Regions from separate parts of the Homo sapiens genome. Here regions 1 and 2 are each linked to region 3. Evidence: promoter capture Hi-C in 16 types of primary human blood cells and fetal thymus (Javierre and others, 2016). All regions are on one chromosome and are shown on one strand. Each heading gives the region's core, a stretch centred on a gene start or on the middle of the fragment in contact. The rest is flanking DNA. Distances are from core to core; before and after follow the strand shown. Region 1 overlaps SETX (senataxin). Region 2 has its middle 96 kb from the start of NTNG2. Region 3 holds the start of POMT1 (protein O-mannosyltransferase 1).

Evidence for each region. Contacts are between HindIII fragments. The CHiCAGO score rates a contact against its expected background, and 5 or more counts as called.
Region 1: a fragment that was not itself captured here is called in contact with the fragment with the promoter of POMT1 in region 3 in 1 of 17 cell types (M2 macrophages); the score reaches 5.9 in M2 macrophages.
Region 2: a contact is called between a fragment that was not itself captured here and the fragment with the promoter of POMT1 in region 3, in 1 of 17 cell types (M0 macrophages). The highest score is 5.0, in M0 macrophages.

Annotation. Positions count from the first base shown.
Region 1 is chr9:132,275,616-132,280,097 of GRCh38, forward strand. SETX (senataxin) reads right to left here. Exons shown (of 26, transcript NM_015046.7): 21 at 2,455-2,642; 22 at 1,445-1,537. Among named protein-coding and RNA genes, the nearest start is that of SETX, 77 kb to the right of the region's middle. The HindIII fragment of the contact is 5,265 bases long and covers 1-4,482 here.
Region 2 is chr9:132,255,907-132,260,307 of GRCh38, forward strand. No RefSeq gene overlaps it. Among named protein-coding and RNA genes, the nearest start is that of NTNG2, 96 kb to the left of the region's middle. The HindIII fragment of the contact is 7,993 bases long and covers 1-4,401 here.
Region 3 is chr9:131,500,069-131,504,315 of GRCh38, forward strand. POMT1 (protein O-mannosyltransferase 1) reads left to right here and starts at 2,850. Exons shown (of 20, transcript NM_001077365.2): 1 at 2,850-3,005; 2 at 4,121-4,247. The coding sequence starts at 4,151. PRRC2B (proline rich coiled-coil 2B) reads left to right here. Exons shown (of 32, transcript NM_013318.4): 32 at 1-125. It also overlaps the pseudogene LOC124902290. RefSeq lists enhancers at 1-1,147, 2,636-3,503, 3,504-4,247, 3,741-3,800 and silencers at 2,751-2,950, 3,021-3,170. The HindIII fragment of the contact is 12,581 bases long and covers 1,036-4,247 here.

The sequences.
Region 1 (4,482 bases), core at 1,137-3,636, 780 kb after region 3:
ATACTATGGTAAATATGAATACATGTGAAATGCCCAGTGAAAAATGAAGTTGTAGAGAGAAAAGAGTTTGAAATCAACTGAAGTTTAGGCACCACTTTCTTCATCTGTTGAAACAGGGAGAGCAGTATTAAGAACAGCAGTATTAATAAGAACAAAGATGTGAATAAGAGATAGCTAACATGAATTAAGGATTAACTATCTTCCGAACACTGAGAAAATGCTTTACATGTATGATCTTCCTTGTCCCTCACCACTGGCTGCATACAACACACACCACACAACCGAGCAGCTGCCATCCACACAGACTCAATGTGAAGGATGTGTCCCACTTGACCCCAGTTGAACAACATGGGGCCCTGGAGCAGGTTCATGTCCTCTTTGTAGTCCTCAGCAGCCTCATATCCTGCACTCTCAACCCCTCCTGAAAACACATGCTCCCTCATGACCATACCGGACCCAAAATGCACCAAGACCAGGGGATGCACTGCCCCATCCCTTGATTCCTGAGGCTACCTTACCCGCCTTGCTTTACGAGCCTTAAATACCCATTCTCCTAACTTTGAGACTTACTAAATGGACAACCCAATCAGCTAGCGATCTCTTCCATCCCTGAAATCCTCATGATGCTCTGCGGCTTAACTCGCAATCCTCTGCTCTCCTCCAAGAGGCCTCATTAAAACCTTTAGGCTGCAGTCCCTCCAGCACTACAATCCCATGGCCAACAACTCCTCTGTATGTGTAACCTCTTCAATGAGTGTTCCCTACTTCCACCTCTGTATCTTATCTAACGCCTGATTCTCGCCTGAGGACGCCACCTGCTCTGCAGCCATCCCATGATGTAGAAGTGGGATTTGTGTTTCCTCCTACTTCATGACAGAGTGGCACTTGTATCCGTGCCAACAAATGCTGCCCCTAGACCATTCCTCCCCTACTCTCTCACAAGAATCCCCAGCTCCTCTGACATTGCTGCTTCTAGCAACACCACTCCTCTTTGCTGTCATATACAGACCACCTGAACACATGCCCTTATTCACAACCCAATACCATCCAACCTCTGTCACTACTTCCTTCCTCCCTTTCACATTTTCATTCAACTGAATTTATACTTAGCCTTCACAGTACTTAACCCAACTGGAATAACTGCTTACCCAGGTGATGACCTGCTGAAGGCCTGTCTTCCCATGAGACCACCATCTTGCAATGGGCACGTCTGTTTCCCTCACTGCTGTGAGCTCAACAAGTATCTACTCAAGCACTTGCTTATGACATTAGGTAATATTATCCCCATTATACAGAAAAAAGAAGCATCAACTTAAGTGAACATGACTGTGCCCTGACACTAGGCAGAGAGATGTGTATAGGAAATGTATTTAACAGAAATATGAATGCAAATCATGTAACAATTCTGGGACTATCAGAGGACTGAGGCAAGAGGAAAACATACTCATTATCCCGTCTTTCTGAACCATCTCCAACATCAAACACAAGGTATGGCTGAAATGGCCAATCTGATGAACATCGAATGGCTTCTGTCTGTCTGTAAAAAAAAAAAAGCAGTCAACATTCAGAATAAAGTCAAGATTTAAGAAAATATCTTGGTATTACTACAATTTTTTCTGTGTGGTGATGTGGGCTGGGGCAAGTAAGGGGATAGCAGGAATATTCTTTTCTAGACGTGTATTAGTGAAAGGTACAAAACAAATTCTATTTCTTTCCTGGTGCTGGGAGAGGTGTCTATATCATTAAAATATAACAAGTATGATTGGAAAGACACTCATAATAGAGTAAGCCACAGAATACTATGTTAAGTATGGTCCCACATTTTTCCTTCAAAAATTTAAAAAGTAAAAAAAGATATGCATAGTAAAAGGACTGAAACTTGGCCAGGTGCGGTGACTCTCGCCTGTAATCCCAGCACTTTGGGAGACCAAGGCGGGTGGATTGCTTGAGCTCAGGAGTTCGAAAGCAGCCTGGGCAACATAGCGAAACCCCGTTTCTACAAAAAGAAAAATACAAAAATTAGCCAGGCATGGTGGTGACTGAGTGTAGTCCCAGCTACTCAGGAGGCTGAGGCAGGTGGATTGATTGAGCCTGGGAGGTCGAAGCTGCAGTGAGCCAGGACTGTGTGCCACTGCACTCATCCTGTGTGAGTGACAGAATGAGACCCTGTCTTCAAAAAAAAAAAAAAAAAAAAAAAGGACTGCTGAAAGTGGATATACCAAAATGTTACCAGTGATTATTTCTGGGTAGTATAAATATAGGTGACTTTTTCCCCTTTTCTTTTTTATGTGCTTTGCTGTATTCAACATGATGGCTATTATAACAGGACAAAATTATTAACCCTTCATGATTTATGCTTTTTATGACAAGACCTAAGACGACAGTAAAATGTCTATTCTTCATAAGTAGCTAAACTACAACAAAATAAGGTCACAAACAATAAGGGGAACTCACCTATTTGTTTTTAAGTTTCTGTTATAAACATAATTAGAAGGGAAGAGGCATATGTCTGGATGCATCCTGTACTGAACAGTGAGCTGTAGAATGGGCAGCCTGCTGATCATGTTGTGTTCTACATTCTCTTCCAGCAGTCTGCAGAAGCGAGCCATCATTGACTGGTCGTAGCCATACTCCTGTGCTTTCTGTGAGGGGCAAAATAAAGCAACAGTTTCCAAGAATTCATTTATATCTTTCCCACTATTATAAACACAATTACTGAGATCTAATACGTATATGGCAACGTTCAGGTAGCATAAGATTACCAACCACAGCTTCAGAGAAAAAAGGTGTTTCTGACTCTGAGCCTCAAAATGCCATGAATCTTTTTTTTTTTTTTTTTTTTTTTTTTTTTTTTTTGGAGACACAGTCTCGCTCTGTCACCCAGGCTGGAGTGCAGTGGCGTGATCTCAGCTCACTGCATCCTTCACCTCCCAGGTTCAAGCGATTCTCATGTCTCTGGCCTCCTGAGTAGCTGGGATAACAGGAATGAGCCACCACACCTGGCCAAAATGCCATGAATCTTGAATATATGTGGAGGTCTTTTCTACTCATATACTGCTAATGAAAGAGATATGATCTTGTGAAAGACAACTGATGCTATTTTGATGCTACAAGACGCCACCCAAAAAAACCAGTAATAAAGGAAATGTAACACAGATTTTAACAATTATTTCTGGGGGTACACCCTCACAGACAGACATATTGAATGCCACTGTAAACAAGCCTTTTGAAGACAAAATTCTTCATTCATCCATCTAATATGTACTAAGCATCTATAATTTGAAGTGCTAAGACCACTAGAGTGAATAAGATGAAGTCTCACAGGACTTAATTTCCAGTGAAGGAAACAGACTCGACTTATGTGTTGACCATCCCTAATCCAAAAATCCAAAATACTCCAATGAGCATATCCTTCGAGCGTGAACTTTAAGCATAAAGTCAGCACTTGGGAAGTTTCAGATGGTGAAGCATTTCAAATTTTTGAATTAGGAACGCCGAAGCTGTGCTAAATGGATTTCACAAACCAAATAATGGGTTATATTCTGCAATCTGAAAAACAGTGACCTAAGTGACAAGTGGGATAAACTGTCTTGATGTTACCACAGTTGTGCCTTGGGATCTACTTTCCGATGGCAGCAACACAGAAAGTTTCAAAAAGGGGAGGGGGAGGGATAGCATTAGGAGATACACCTAATGTAAATGACGAGTTAATGGGTGCAGCACACCAACATGGCACATGTATACATATGTAACAAACCTGCATGTTGTGAACATGTACCCTAGAACTTAAAGTATAATTAAAAAAGAAAAGTTTCAAAAAGTACTTTATCTTAAATAACCCTGAAGTAAAAATGTGCTGAAAACTTCACTAAGATGATGGAATCTTCATGAGTGATGTGAAAGATACTGGCACTGAAGACGTGCAAAGCCTGAATAAACTTGTTTCACAAACTATGGGAGTGGAAGAAAGGCATTACTTCTTAACCTATTTATATGTGTGATTTTAAACAGGTTTGTGAAAGCATAAAATAATTATTAATAGATACATGCCAATTTTCCCTAAATCCTCAAAAGTTTATCTGCGTTAGCTCACAAAACCTAATTTTTAATCTTTTCTTTGGGGAAACAGAAAAGGAAGTTATGTAAGGTAACGCATCTACCTCCAGACAAAACCTTAGTCCATTCTACAAATGACATAGATTTATTAATATATATTCTGACATGGGAGGATGTCCCTGATTTACTGATTGAAAAAAAAACCAATTCTGCACAGAATGATTTTGCCACCTTTAAACAAAACCAAACCCACGTACATATACACATAAACATATACATGTATACAAACCATATACCACTTTTTAGTAACTGACTCACTGTTAACCCCTAGAATACAAACACCATAAGGGCAGGGATTTTGTCTGTTTTCTTCACTGTCATAACCCCAGCCCCTAAACAGTGCCTGAATTATGGTGGCACTCAATA
Region 2 (4,401 bases), core at 647-3,146, 750 kb after region 3:
TTAAAACACTTAGGAGATTGATTAATTCAACTACATTAAAATAAAAACCAGCCAGGCGTGGTGGCTCACGCCTGTAATCCCAGCTACTTGGGAGGCTGAGGCATGACAATCTCTTGAACTTGGGAGGTGGAGGTTGCAGTAAGCCGAGATCACGCCACTCCATTCCAGCCTGGGCAACAGAGCGAGACTTCATCTCAAAAATAAAATAAAATAAAAACCTTCTGTACAACAAAAGACATCAGTAAAGAAGCACAAGCCACAGAGCAAGATAAAATATTGGAAATAAATGTGATACTTAAAAGATTAACATGGAAAATATTTGGAGAATTTTTCTTTTTTTTCTTTTTTTTGAAATGGAGTCTCACTCCGTTGCCCAGTCTGGAGTGCAGTGGTGCAATCTTGGCTCAGTGCAACCTCCACCTCCTGGGTTCAAGCAGTTCTCCTGCCTCAGCCTCCCAAGTAGCTGAGATTGCAGGTGCACGCCACCACACCCGGGTAATTTTTGTATTTTTAGTAGAGACAGGGTTTCACCATGTTGGCCAGGATGGTCTCCGACTCCTGACCTTGTGATCCACATGCCTCAGCCTCCCAAAGTGCTGGGATTACAGGTGTAAGCCACCGCGCCCGGCCAAGAGTGATCACCAAAGTAGTAAAATAGTGAAAAATGGAAACAACCCAAACACATAGGACCGAGAAGCTGGATGTGTGGCCCGCTCCCATGCTGGAATTCTCTAGCTCTTCCAATGAGTGAACTGCAGAGGAATCCTCACCCTGAGCCTGGCTGACACGTGGGACTGGATAACCCTGTCGTGGGGACTGTCCTGCCTATAGTAGGATGCTCAGCAGCACCCCTAGCCTCTACCCATGAGACGCCATAGCATCCTCCCGTGTGACAACCACAGATGTCTCTACATATTGTCAAATGTCCCCCTGAGGGGGCAGAATTGCCCAACTAAGAACCACATTAGACAGGGCACAGTGGCTCACGCCTGTAATCCTAGCACTTTGGGATGCCCAGGTGGGCGGATCACTTGGGGTCAGGAGTTCAAGACCAGCCTGGTCAACATGGTGAAACCCCGTCTCTACTAAAAATACAAAAATTAGCCGGGCGTGGTGGCAGCCGCCTGTAATCCTAGCTGTTCAGGAGGCTGAGGCAGGAGAATTGCTTGAACCTGGGAGGCGGAACCTGGGAGTAACCTGGGAATTGCTTGAACACGCCACTGCACTCCAGCCTGGGCAACAGAGCGAGACTCCGTCTCAAACAAACAAAAAGAACCACATTAGAGCCATATGAATCCTCATGGATAAATCTTAAAACATAGTGCTGGGTGGAAAATCTATATCACAGAAAGGTGGATGCAGTATAACACTTTTCATATGAGGGCTAAAAACACACCAAGAAAACATGATGGCTGCGCACATATGTAGTGAGGTCTCAGGCTCATGTCACTTCTGCAAAGGGAGAGAGGGACAGAGCATGCCACAGGGCTCCAACTGTATCTATAGTTCTTCATTTATTTCCTTAAAAAGTAAAAGATCTAAGGTAAAGAAACAGGAATGGTGGGTACAGGGTGTTCCTTATACTATTATTATCCTACTCTGTATGCGTGAAATAGCTCCCTTTAAAAAAATAACAGGAGGCCGAGATCGCGCCACTGCACTCCAGCCTGGGCGACAGACGAAGACGCCATCTCAAAAAACAAACAAAACAAACAAAGAAACAAACAGCTGCCTCAAAAACAGAAAAGATGACGAGAAGGAGAGGTCTTAGAACGCATCCTTATCTGAAGGACAGGATACAGTCTTGTTTTAGGAAACTCCAGCTGCTCTGTGTCATTGAAAGGGAAGAGGAGAGACCAGATGGTCCAAGTTCACCAAGGCACTGGGAAGGACCTGAGACTGACTGCAGGCCCTTCATGAAAGCAAAGCCTGGGTGTGTTATAACCGCCAGTCCCACTCTCCCACAGTGAGGTCCATCCCGGCAGGGGCTGAGTCCACCTTGACCACTGAGACAAACAGACCTCGTGATGGACTCAGTGTTTTTAAATTGTGGAGCTTGGACAGGGAGGGGCGAGATGGAGAACGAGGTATACACAAAAGAGAACAATGTGATGAGGGCATGAAGTGTGCTTACCAACCTTCCCTCACCCAGAGGCTGGAAGAGATTTTAGAGCTTAACAGAAAAAGAGTGGGAAAAGGACACTGCTGGGCAAAAGACATGAACTAAAGACTTCTCGGCTGTCCCCATCAGTGGCACGGTGGTCTCAGCAGTACCGATGTGGATACTCAAGAACGTGAGGCTACCGTGGAAATGCTTTGCTTAAACCACACGTGAGTTTCCAAGGAGTGAAGATCCCCAGGGAAAGCATCTAGGACCCTGCCGTGTTGGCCCAGCTCTGGGAAGTCAATCGACGTGGACCCCTTACTGTGTTAACTGCTAATCAGCCTTCTGTAAAAATGATATTGCAAATTCACCTGTAGCCGTCTATTTTGTTCTCTTGCTGGTGAGGAATAGGAACTGATGTAAATTGGTGAAGGTTTACTGGAGCCTGTAAGAAAATATTTTATGAAATTAAAAAAAAAAAAACACAAGAGGCCTGGTGTGGTGGCTCACGCCTGTAATCCTAGCACTTTGGGAGGCCGAGGTGGGTGGATCACGAGGTCAGGAACTCGAGACCAGGCTAATCAACATGGTGAAACCCTGTCTCTACTAAAAATACAAAAATTAGCCGGGCGTGGTGGCCCGTGCCTGTAATCCCAGTTACTCGGGAGGCTGAGGCAGGAGAATCGCTTGAACCTGGGAGGTGGAGGTTGCAGTGAGCCGAGATCGCGCCACTGCATTCCAGCTTGGGCGACAGAGCGAGACTCGGTCTCAACATAAAAAAATAAATAACAAGAAACATCACCTGTCTGCGGAAGGCGTACTGTGCTCTGGCCCTGGGAGCCGGCTAAGGGATGTGGGGCCAGGGTCAGAGTGTGGCAGATGGGCCTCTTCAGACAGGGACCAGCTTCCCCAGGGAGGCCTCCTAGCTGAGCCTGGTAAAAGGATGAAGAACATTCTAGGGGGCCAGGCTGGAGAGCCCAGGAATTGCAGACAGAAGTGAGCCAGGCAGGGGCACTCCACATGTGTGTGGGTGCGAGTGTATAATAAATAATGGCTGCAGGGTGAGCCCCAGTTCTGCTAAGGCAGGAGGCAGGGGAATGACTCTTACGGCTTCAGGGGTCTGAAGAGGGGCAGGGGGATGGGAGGCTGGTGATCCTAGTTCAGCAGTGGCAAAGCCGGTGTCTGAGGGAGCCTGGTGGGGGGGTGACCCTGGGTTTCTGCCTCCAGCCCTTTGAGAAGCATGGGCTTTGCGTGTCCTGTCTCTTGGGGTCACACGTGGGAGTTACTGAAGTGAAGGCCCAGGCACATCCGCCTAACAGGGGCGGGGCAGCTGCAGTCCCGCCCACGGCCACCGGGGGCGGTGTGTATGGTTCTCCGCACAAGCCGAGGAGCTGAAGAGCACGGGGAGGATGAAATCTTGCCCGCTCTGCTCTGGCCGTCTGGGTGCAGCTGCGTCCTCCTGGAGGCAGGAAGGGGCACCAGGCGGGCTAGCGTGCCACAGACCCACAGGTGAATGGGCCCACAGCCCAAGTCCTCACCAATGCTCTCCTAAGCAAAGGGAAAGTATCCAGGGAACCTCGGGGTGTTGTTAGGGTTAATGTTTACGAAAGGCTTCGAAGAGGGGCCGGGCGCGGTGGCTCACACCTGTAATCCCAGCACTTTGGGAGGCCGAGGCAGGCGGATCACCTGAGGTCAGCAGTTCGAGACCAGCCTGGCCAACATGGTGAAACCCCGTCTCTACTAAAAATACAAAAATTAGCCGGGCATGGTGGTGGGAATCCGTAATCTCAGCTACTAGGGAGCCTGAGGCAGGAGAATCACCTGAACCCGGGAGGCGGAGGTTGCAGTGAGCCGAGATTGCACCACTGCACTCCAGCCTGGGTGACAGAGCAAAACTCCGTCTCAAAAAAACAAACACCAAACAAACAAAACACCACAAGAATACCAAGGGCTGCATCCCCAAACCAGTAAATCAGTAATGCTAGGATGGATCCCAGGCAATCAGAATTTTTTTTTTTTTTTTTTTTTTTTTTTTTGGTTGTTGTTGTTTGGGACAGTCTTGCTCTGTCACCCAGGATGGAGTGCAGTGGCACAATCTCTACTCACTGCAACCTCCGCCTCCTGGGTTCAAGCGACTCTCCTGCCTCAGACTCCCAAGTAGCTGGGATTACAGGCGCCCACCACCACACCCGGTTATTTTGTGTTTTTAGTAGAGACGGGGTTTCACCATGTTGGCCAGGCTGGTCTCGAACTCCTGACCTCGGGTGATCCGCCAGCCTCGGCCTCCCAAAGTGCTG
Region 3 (4,247 bases), core at 1,600-4,099:
CACACTCACCCTCGCCCTTTCCCTCCGGTTCAGTACCTATTGTTTCTCCTTTCAAATATGTGATTGTACTAGCTCTTTCCATATGAAAGAATTCTCCTTATTTAAATAAAAAAAGTTTAAAAAGATAAAGCTGAACGTGCTTTCTCAGGTTGTACATCCCTCGTTTCTTGGTCATTTGACCAGAGAGACCTACAGATCAAAGAATTCTAATTTTACAGAGTTCACACGGAAATTAGGAGTGGCACGGCTGAAATGCCTTAACAGAAGCTGTGTGGGTAGAGAAGGGATTGAAACCCGTGGCTAAGAAGCATCTTCCAAATGCGGCAGCATCAAGCACTCCACCCTCTTCCCACGGATGGCATCTGGTTGTGCACAGTGCCTGCCTGTGGCCCCGTCACTTGCCGTGAGAAACGAGCTGGTCAGAGGAGGTAAGCATTTGATGTGGCGTGTTGTGTTGTCACTTCTAGCGGTGCTTTTGCAGGAAGTGGAGGAGGATTATGCTGTGCTTTGGGGTGGGGAGGGAGCAAGCCAGGCCTGGGGTAGCGAAGGGTAAAAGGTAAGAATGGGCTGAGGCAGCAGTTCTCGGTTTTGCCATTGCCTCACTGACCTGGGGAAAGACGTTTCACCACCTGAGTCAGTCTCCTTAATCATAAAACACAGATTGTAATGGTATCGACCTCATGGCGTAGTGTGGATTCAAAGTCACCAGTAGCTTTTAGCTTAGTGCCTAGAACCAGCTAAGAAAACTTATAAATTACCCCCAAGAAATAAAACGCTGTTTCCATGAGGAACCCCAGTCCCTCAACTTCCTTCTAAGCCTTTTGACTATGGAAGAGAGTTGGGGACCTGGCCATGGGCATCTCAGCTTTAACTAGCCACACTCACTGCCCTGATTTACTGCTCCCTAGGGACAGGTGGCTCACAAAATCTCAAACGGAGACCAGCCCTGAAAGAGGCTAGTCCTAAGGTTGGGGGCTTGCAAGATGGAGGCTGTAAGTCCTGAGGCACCACCACTGTTAGCATGGCATGAACCAAAGCTTAACAGCCCAGCCCCACTCCCTCCTGGGGCCCAGGGAACCCTCCCTGCCCACTGTAAATACAGTTGCCTGCAGGCTCTGGCCACAAACCCAGGTGAGCCCCAGCTCCTTGCCTCTCTGTGGGATCTTGGGTGAGTCACATAACCCCTCAAGGGTAAGCCATAAAGAAGTAACCACGAAATTCTAACTGGTGTCATCTAATGCTATGTTGCCCAACATGGAAAAAAAGTCTTGCAGGCAGCCAAGAACCATAATGAAGGTTATTAAACCTGCAGTGTGCCCTTTTGGTCTGTATAGATTAACATACAAATAGACCAGGAGATCAAGAAGGAGCGAGGCTGAGAAGAGTGATCCATCAGCCTGGTTGCGTTGCTGTCAGTTACCCTGCTCTGGGTGCCGACTGTTCAGGGAAAACATGGGAAGGGGTGCATTGACCCAACCAAAAGTACCATGTCTGCTCCAAAGCAGGCCTTTGGGAAGGCTCTTGACCCTCAGCAGAGGGGGCTGGAGAGGCTGATGGATGAGGAGGAGCCCTGGGAATGGAGGAAGAAGCCTCCAGTCTTCTGCCACGGAGTTTAGGGGAGATGCCCCCACTGGAGCCTCTGATGGTCATGCAGCCCCCACTGATGTCCAGGTTTTTTTGGTTTTGTTTTTTGTTTTGAGACGGTCTCACTTTGTAGTCCAGGCTGGAGTGCAGTGGTGAGACCAAGGCTCACTGCAGCCTCGACCTCTCTGCCCCAAGTGATCTCCTGCCTCAGCCTCCCTTGTAGCTGGGACTGCAGGCAGACGCCAAGGGGCCCCGCTAATTTTTGTATTTTTTTGTAGAGACGGGGTCTCGCTGTGTTGCCCAGGCTCTCCTGGACTCAAGCGGGCTCACGGATCCTCCCACCTCGGCCACCCAAAGTGCTGGGGTTACAGGCGTGAGCCACCGCCCCCGGCCCTAGGTCCGTTTTAAATGCCCTTACCCTCAGCCACTTCACCGCTAGATGTATGTGCAAGCAGGATCGTGGCATCGATGTTTTTCGGCAAGGAAACTAGGAGCGCCCGCGGGCGTGGGGGCACGTGCCTGTGGTCTCAGCTGCTCTGGAGGCCGAGGAGGGAGGATCGCTTCGGGCAGAGAGGTCGAGGCTGCAGCAAGCCGTGGTCCTGCCACTGTACTCCAGCCTGGGCGACAGAGCGAGACCCCGTGTCTTAAAAAAAAAATTAAGGTCGGACGCAGTGGCTCACGCCTGTAATCCCAGCACTTTGGGAGGCCGAGGTGGGCGGATCACTTCAGGTCAGGAGTTCGAGACCAGCCTGGCCAACATGGTGAAACCCTGTCTCTACTACAAATACAAAAATTAACCGGGCGTGGTGGCGTGCGCCTTCAATCTCAGCTACTCGGGAGGCTGAGGCAGGAGAATCGCTTGAACCCGGGAAGCGGAGGTTGCGGTGAGCCGAGATCGCGCCATTGCACTCCAGCCTGGGCAACAAGAGCGAAACTCCGTCTCAAAAAAAAAGAAAAGAAAAGAAAAGAAAAAAACTAGGAGCAAACTGGCGCGCCCGGCAGAACGCCGTTGTGCAGACGCAGAATTAAGATCTTCACGCCAGATGGAGTGAAAAAGCAAGGAGCAGAAGATGGGTGGGAGCCCACTGCGCTTTTTAAAATCTGCACGTCTGCTTAGAGTACACAGAAATCCTGGCACACAAAACAGTAGCACCCGAGAGAGGGGAGGTCGCCGCGTTTCACACCTGCCTCTCCTCCGGGACCGGCGCCCTCGCCCGCTGCGCACGCGCGTCACCCTCTCCCAGTGCGCACGCGCGCTGCTGCCCGTCTGGCCCCGCAGGCTCGGTGAATCGAACGTTGAGCAGGGCGGTGGGTGGTGCGGAGTGCCGAGCGGCCTCACCCCCAACCGTCGGCCCAGTCGGACGGTTCCGAGGCGTTGCCGGGAGCCGGGCGCGGCTCTGTGTGGACTCGGAGAAACGCGGGTACATTTGGGGACACCGGGGACGAGAGCCCAGCCCGGACTTGGGGGAGTCCGTCAGTGCCGGACGCGGGTCCCTGGCTTGCGGACGGGCTGGGGCCGGGGGCGTCCCCGTCTTTCCGGAGCTGGGGGCGGGGTTCGGGCCCGGGCAGATGCGGCGTTCGGGCGGCCGAGCCCCGAAGTAAGAACTCCGTGGCGCGTGCAGCCCTAGGGAGGAAGGGCGTGCTGCGGGTGCAGTCTCAGGGTGAGGACGGAGCTGGGGCCGACGCAGCCTCGGGAGTTGGTGGACGGGACAGGTGCGGCCTGTGGGGAAGAAGGGCCGGCCAGGGAGATGCGGTCTGCAAGGGGAGAGGAGGCACTCCCAGGACAGATGGGACCTTTTGGGACGAAGGCGCTCAAGGCAGATGCAGCTCAGGGAGGGAAGGGCGCGTCCAGGGTAGATGGGGCCTGAGGAGACCAGCGGGGCGCCAACGGCCAGATGCGGCTTTGGTGTGAGACAGGGTGTCCCAGGCCTGATGCAGCCTCAAGAGAAGCGGAGCTCAAGGGAAGATGAAGCCTGGAGGAGAACGTGGGGGCGCAGGGTGCAAATGCACCCTCCAGGCGAGAAAGGGAGCACCCGGGGATGATGTGCCGCTGGGATAGAAGGCAGGGAGGCACTGGGGGCAGATGCATCCTTGAGGAGAGATGAGGAGGCCCCGAGGCTCGGCCAGGTTGGGGTCCCTGGGCTGTAAGCAGCTGAGATGGCACCCAGGAGCTGCCCAGGGTCAGGTAGCTGTGGCCGCACTGTGGGCTTCTGGTCGTCGGGGAGGGAGGGGAGAAACCCTGGCGTTCCTTAGCAGTGTTCTCGCGCCCAAGACGTGCTCGGCAGGTTTTGTGGAATGAGTTGTTGAAAGGAGTGAATGTCCAGTCCTGAGATCCCCTGAATTCCCACCCGAGTTCACTGCTAGTGCCCCTCACCCCACATGTCTACCTGAACCAAGGCTCCAGGAACTTCGGTCTTTCTCAGCAGCCCGGCTGTGCTGTGGTTCTCCTCGTGTGTCCGGGAGCCGGGTGGCTGGGGATCCCTTCTGTAGCCTCTCGTGAGCCCTCATGGACCACGGCTCCTCCCTTCTTTTCTAGGGCGTCTGCCTGAGCCCGCTTTTCTACAAGATGTGGGGATTTTTGAAGCGCCCTGTAGTGGTGACGGCTGACATCAACTTGAGCCTTGTGGCCCTGACTGGGATGGGGTTACTGAGCCGGCTGTGGC